Regions from separate parts of the Homo sapiens genome. Here region 1 is linked to region 2. Evidence: promoter capture Hi-C in 16 types of primary human blood cells and fetal thymus (Javierre and others, 2016). All regions are on one chromosome and are shown on one strand. The core of a region is centred on a gene start or on the middle of the fragment in contact, and the rest is flanking DNA. Distances in the headings are between cores, read along the strand shown.

Region 1 (3,419 bases), core at 861-3,360, 140 kb before region 2:
AGGGGCAGTAGGAAGGGAAATAAAGTGCGCCCCTTCCTGACCTTCATCCTAGAGTTTTCCTTTTGATTTCTTTGCCTCAAGAAAATGGGCCAGGCGCACAACTAAAGTTGGCAGTTTGTTGTGACAGGCCCTTGTTCTGCTTCCAGAAGATAGATCCCTCTGTGTCTTGAAGATATAGCCTGGCTCTGTGTGTCGAGGTGGGGGACAGGAGGGCTGCCATGTCATGGAAAAAGAAAGGCCTGATATGTACTAGCCATACGTCCCGTGATTGAAAAGGCATATGAACAATAAAAGCCTCAATTTCCTCATCTCTAAAAGGGGAGATCATGTCCCTTGCTCTGTGTAACTCAATTTTTTGTTCATTCCTTTGTTTATTCATTCAATAGTTATTTATGGAGCACACACAATGTGCCAGATTCTGTGCTAGGTGCTGGAGATACGGTGGTAAACAATATAGAACCCACCCCTGCCTTCAAGGAGCTTGCTGTGAGGATAAATGAAATGATTATGAAATCACTCTGTTAACTATACTGCATGGGTCTCATTGTTTTTCTTTTTTTTTTTTAGAGACGGGGGATCTTGCTATGTTGCCCAGGCTGGTCTCGAACTCTTGGGCTCAAGCAATCTGCCGCCTCAGCCTCCTAAAATGCTGGGATTACAGGAATGAGCCACCATGTCCAGCCCATTTCTTTCTCTCTCTCTCTCTCTCTTTTTTTTTTTTTTAGAGACAGGGTCTCACTCTATCACCCAACCTGGAGTATAGTGACACAGTCATGGCACTGCAGCCTTGACCTCCCGGACTCAAGTGATCCTCTCGCCTCAGCCGCCCAAGTACAAGTGCTCATTACCATGCCTGGCTAATTTTTTTCTTTTAATTTATTTTTTGTGGAGATGGGGTCTCACTGTGTTGCCCAGTCTGGTCTTGAGCTCCTGGCCTCAAGTGATTCTCTGGCCTCAGCTTCCCAAAGTGTTAGGATTATAGACAAGCGTGAACCACCACACCCAGCCCTATTTTTCTATTTCTCATCTCCCAATAAGATTGCAACCTCAACTAGGGCTACCTACGTAGGCCTAATCAGAAAACCTGAGTTTAGTCTTACTTCTTTGTTTCCTTCTCTCCATAGCCTCATTGAGCAAGGCACTTCCCCTCTCTAGATGATTCGTTGTTCATATTCAGCCCAAGGTCTATGATTGCTGTTTTTGTTTTTAGAGACGGAGTTTTGCTCTTGTCTCCCAGGCTGGAATGCAGTGGCACAATCTCGGCTCACTGCAACCTCTGCCTCCCGGGTTAAAGCAATTCTCCTGCCTCAGCCTCCCAAGTAGATTACAGGCATGCGCCACCACACCCAGCTAATTTTTGTATTTTTAGTAGAGACCATGGGCAGGCTGGTCTCGAACTCCTGATCTCAGGTGATCCGCCCGCCTCGGCCTACCCAAAGTGCTGGGATTACAGGCGTGAGCCACAGCGCCCAGCCGATTGGTTTCAACTATTAGAAGAAGGGATAAACTGGCCCGGAGCGGTGGCTCAAGCCTGTAATCCCAGCACTTTGGGGGCGGGCGGATCACCTGAGGTAAGGAGTTCAAGACCAGCCTAGCCAACATGGTTGAAACACCGTCTCTAGTAAAAATACAAAAATTAGCCAGGCGTGGTGGCAGGCGCCTGTAATCCCAGCTACTCGGGGGGCCGAGGCAGGAGAATCGCTTGAACTCGGGAGGCAGAGTGTGCAGTGAGCCGAGATCGCGCCATCGCACTCCAGCCTGGGGGGACAAGAGCGAGACTGCGTCTCAAAAAAAAAAAAAAAAAAAAAAAAAAAAAAAGGAGGGATAAGCTTCTGGGAGAAAAAGTTCCGGGTAAAGAAATCTCACTATAAAAAAGAAATAGTAGCAGAAACAGCTGGGAACTCCTAGACACACTTAACTTTCTTAGGTATCCCTTCCAGTCTCCTCCCAACCACTCCTTTCCTATTTCATTTCCACTCCCCACCTTTAGTAGCTGCGGTCTCTTTAAGTGCGCACTTTCGGTGTAATGATAGGCGATTGGGCCAATAAAGCGTTTCGTCCTGGAGTTAACTGGTTTGTCCCTTTCGGGCTGCCGTCCTACAGATCCGCCATATTGTCTACTGAAAGCTGCCGCTGAAGCTGCCGCCGTTGCCTCCGCCGCCAAGAGTGAGCGAGCGGACCCGCGATGGGTGAGTGAGGAAACCACGCAGTAGGGTTCTTGGGCTCAGGGAGTGTCGGGGCCTGGGATTTGGCGAGAGCCTGTCTCCGGTCTGCGGAAGATGTCTGCATCCCCTCTAGCTAGGTCTGAGGGGAAAAGTCAGGCCGGGAGTGCCCCTCTTGCCAGTTTTGGGCCGAGCTAGGGCCCGTGCTGGAAGCAGTCCTTTGGTGCTGGTTTCGGGGACACCTTGGCACGCCTGGAGCCCCCCACATGGTGGCCTCGGGCAGGAGCCCACGTGTTCCTGGGAGGTAGAAAGGGGCCTACTCTCTGTCCTGCGCCCAGACTGGGGCTGGGGGACGGGCTCCCGGCGGCAGGCCTGGGCGGCGCTAAGGTAGCTTTCTCCTGGGTTGTGTTTGGCCAACGCGTGTCTTGACTAGATTCAGTGGCTCCCCTGAACTCAGGGAAGTCCTACCTACGTAGCGAGGTGGAGTCCTCTAGTGAGGGGACGTCAGGCGAGCCAGCACTAGGCCGGTAAGCATGGGCAGCCAGGCCGAGGGCAGCTTGCGCCGCTGAAGGCCGGGAGAACGGAATCAAGGCGGAAATAGTGTGGTTCGGTTGGGCTCAGAGTGGCATCGCTTGTGATGGTAGAACACCAAAGGCCAAGTCCTCTTGGCCATCTTTAGGTTGAGGACTTTAGGTTTCTGGGCTGGCCCTGGTAAGGAGAAAAGGAGCGACCTGTTGATCTTTCTGAGGGGACTCCGGCTGGCAAGGCCTCTGTTCAGAGAGAATACCATGGCGAAGTCTTTGGATTTAGAGACAGAACCAACAGTGGTAATTCCTCTAAAGCAGTAAAAATTGTGAAATTTGCTAAGCTCTTTCTACGTACGGGCATTGTTCTGATTGCTTTACATGTCTTGTTTTACTTAATTTGTACAACCTAAGGAAATAGATGCTACCATTGCCATTTTACAGATGTGGAAGCTGAGCTTTAGAGAGGTAAAGTAACTTACCCAAGGTCATGCAGTGGCTAAGCCAGGGTGAACACTCCCAAGCCTAGTTTGTAACTGCTGTTTGTTGTTGTTGTTGATAGAGTCTTGCTCTGTCGCCCAGGCTGGAGTGCAGTGACGCGATCTCGGCTCACTGCAACCTCCTGCCTCCCGGGTTCAAGCGATTCTCCTGCCTCAGCCTCCCGAGTAGCTGGGATTACAGGCACCCACCACCACGCCCGGCTGATTTTTGTGTGTTTTTGGTAGAGACAGGG
Region 2 (3,029 bases), core at 445-2,944:
AGGCACCCGCCACCATGCCCGGCTAATTTTTGTATTTTTAATAGAGACAGGGTTTCAGCATGTTGGCCAGGCTGGTCTCAAACTCCTGACCTCAAGTGATCCACCTGCCTGGGGTTTCCAAAGTGCTAGGATTACAGGCCTGAGCCACCGTTTATTTCTATTCGACCCTGAGGAGCTCCCTTAACCCCTGAGTCTGTTTCCTCACCTCCACAATGGAGATGCTGATTCTCACTCCACAGGCAGCAGATGTGCCTTACGGGAGATAGTGCACAGTGAGCGCTCAGTGAATATGAACTATTACTCACTCCCAGCGCGGCAGTCTTTCTACTCTGTGCTGAGACAGGGAGATGGACCGTGAAGTGTTCAGGCTTACATTGCAAGGGAGTCTGGGCCCTGCACCAGGCTTGGAGCTCCAACTCTAGGCTCTGTGTCACTGTGAAGGTTTTTCACTTTGTCTCTCTCAGCCTTTGTTTCTGTGTTACCCTCTTTGTCTGACTTTCCAACTCAGGCTTCCTCTTCCCCCCACCTATTTCCTGCCCCCACTTCTCTCTGCAGCTGAGGTGCACACAGCATCGCTTCCACCTCACAAGCCCCAACAATGCTCTGTGGGTTCCCCTCCCCCTACCAGCTCACTCAGGCAGTGACGCATGTGCACTTTCCTCCTGGTGGGGTCAAGGCCGAGTTCTTGGACCTGATGAGGCCACCTGGAGTTCCTCATATCACTGGTGACCTGGCCCTCAGCTAATGATGGGTGCCCCCTCAGCCTGGCCCCAGGGGAAATGGAAATTCTTTGCCTGCCTGCTGCTCGTGACAATCTTCTTGCCTCCTGCTTATAACAGAAAGTCCTGACAGTCTGTGGCCTGCACCTGGGGGCCTGAGCGGCCCTGTTTGCTCTGTCTTCCACCTGTTGCAGGAGATAGTGCCAAGCCCTCCACCTCTGCCAGGGGCTGTGGCCTTGCCTCTACCTGAATTCGAACTGTTGCCCTACTCTCCAACCATGATTAATGGGTGTTGTCCTGGCCTCTGACTACAGCAGGGGCCGTTACTATGCCCTCTTGAAGACATGAGGTTGTCCTGTCTGCCTCCTGAAACAGGCTGTTTTCCAGCATTCTGTCTGTAAGAGGGATGGTAGCCTGCCATTCACCTACCCTTGACTATAATAAAGCTACTGTTCCATGCCCTGAGATGACATGGGAATTGTTCTCTCGGCCTGACCTGACTGTAACATGCATGGTCTGCTCACCAGCTATTTAACAGGGATATTGTCCTCTCCTCTGACTCTGAACGATGCTACCTTTGCTGCCAGACAGAAACAAAAGGGTCTCTCAGCTGCAACGGTGGTGCTGAGGTGCTGTTTGCCTCTCACCATAAGCTGAGTGTGTGTCCGCTTGCCCCCTGCTCACTGGGCCCAAAGGCTGCCCTTGAATCTCTTGCCCAGATGCACCCTGGAGGGCAGAAGGGAGGGTCTATCAGACATCCTCCCCTCAACTTTAAACCTCCCAGTGTCACCCTGGGACAGTAGGGGAAGATGGACCTGGTCTGGAGATGTAGGGGACCCCCAGGGGCTGAGAGGCAGGGGTCTATGGTGGCAGGAAGCTTGGCGTGCTAGAGGGTTGTGGTTGGGCTGCTGGGGCCCGGTTGGCTGCGGAGCCCTCCGGAGGAGGCAGGAAGTCAGGGTGGGACGTGGGCGCGGGGAGACAGGTGGTGGCTACGACGGCGAAGGGAGCTGAGACTGTCCAGGCAGCCAGGTTAGGCCAGGAGGACCATGTGAATGGGGCCAGAGGGCTCCCGGGCTGGGCAGGTAAGGAGCGCTGGTATTGGGGGCGCAGGCGCCGGGGTGAGAGGCCTGATAGCAGACGGCTGCAGCTGTGCGGGCCCAGGCTCCCTAGGGATGCAGCAGCCCTTTGTGGCTGGGGAGAGAAGATCCTCGCTCAAGGTCAGGTGGGAGGCAGGCAGTGTAGCTGGGTCGCCTCTTTCCTGCGAAGCTGGTGTCGCTTGCCTCTGTCGTGCTGTCCACCAGTGGCCCCACCTGACTGGGAGCGTGTTTCCTGGACACCAGGCACATGGACAGTCAGGTGTTAAAAAGGCTTCCAGAAACCACCAAGCCCAGTCCCTCAGGCCATGAGGATGAGGCTCCTGAGGCCCAGAGAGAACAAGGCACTCACTGCCCACGGTTTCTCAGCAAGGCAGTGGCAGGGCTGAGAGTGATGGCTGAGGCTGTGGCCACCCCGCCTGGAGCAGGGTGATGGACAGGCTGGACTCAGAGGACCCAGGAATCCTTCTGGTTTCTGGGGCAGACCCCAGTGACAAGAATCTCCTGAGAAAGAGAGAGAGAGAGAGAGAGAGAGAGAGAGAGAGAGAGAGAGACAGAGATCACCCAAGGCATCCAGATGGACATGCGAGGAGTGATTTTAGCCTCAGCGATCGAGGGAAGAATCTCCTGATGGGCGTGAACTGATATGTGTGGGGGTGTCCATCATCTGGGATGGAGCTCCAGGGTGGATGGACATATCTGATCTGAGTATGGGAAGTTGGAAGTGAAAGAGAATGATGGGAGAAAGGAAGAGGAAGTACTATTTTTATCCCAGACAGGGGTGCAGTTGGTCCTGGGTGAGGAAGCGCTGAACTTCCATCTGGAAAGTCACCATTCCTGCCCCTGCCAAGCGTCACAGCAGGATGTCCTCCCCTCGCCCCTGGCTCCCTCCCGCTTCAGCCCTGCCTGTGTAGGGCCAGTTGGTTTTGCTGATTCCTGCTTCAAACCCCAGGGAGGTGGAGAGAGACTGGGGAGGCATAGTTGCTACCTGCTCACCTCCTCACTTTTTAACTCTGAGCCTTAATTTTTTTGGGAAGTCCTCACTCAGCCAGATTTCCAGGTTTCCCCTGCTTCGTTGGAGTTTTTCTTGACACACACTTTCCGCCTAGTCAGCTGGTCCCAGCCTTTCTCCTGTCTACAGCTCCAAGTCCTGTAGCCTCTTGTGGGGGCTAGGGAACATGGTGGCTCTCCTCGCACTTCAGGGAGGGTCATTCAC

Evidence for each region. Contacts are between HindIII fragments. The CHiCAGO score rates a contact against its expected background, and 5 or more counts as called.
Region 1: a contact is called between the fragment with the promoter of KPNA6 here and the fragment with the promoter of LCK in region 2, in 1 of 17 cell types (naive CD4 T cells). The highest score is 5.6, in naive CD4 T cells.

What each region holds. Positions count from the first base shown.
Region 1 is chr1:32,105,946-32,109,364 of GRCh38, forward strand. It overlaps KPNA6 (karyopherin subunit alpha 6), which reads left to right and starts at 2,111. Exons shown (of 14, transcript NM_012316.5): 1 at 2,111-2,189. The coding sequence starts at 2,186. RefSeq lists enhancers at 1,805-2,323, 1,937-2,366, 2,324-2,841. The HindIII fragment of the contact is 1,772 bases long and covers 1,828-3,419 here.
Region 2 is chr1:32,249,571-32,252,599 of GRCh38, forward strand. LCK (LCK proto-oncogene, Src family tyrosine kinase) reads left to right here and starts at 1,695. Exons shown (of 13, transcript NM_005356.5): 1 at 1,695-1,801. RefSeq lists enhancers at 298-507, 698-907, 958-1,047. The HindIII fragment of the contact is 1,623 bases long and covers 1,595-3,029 here.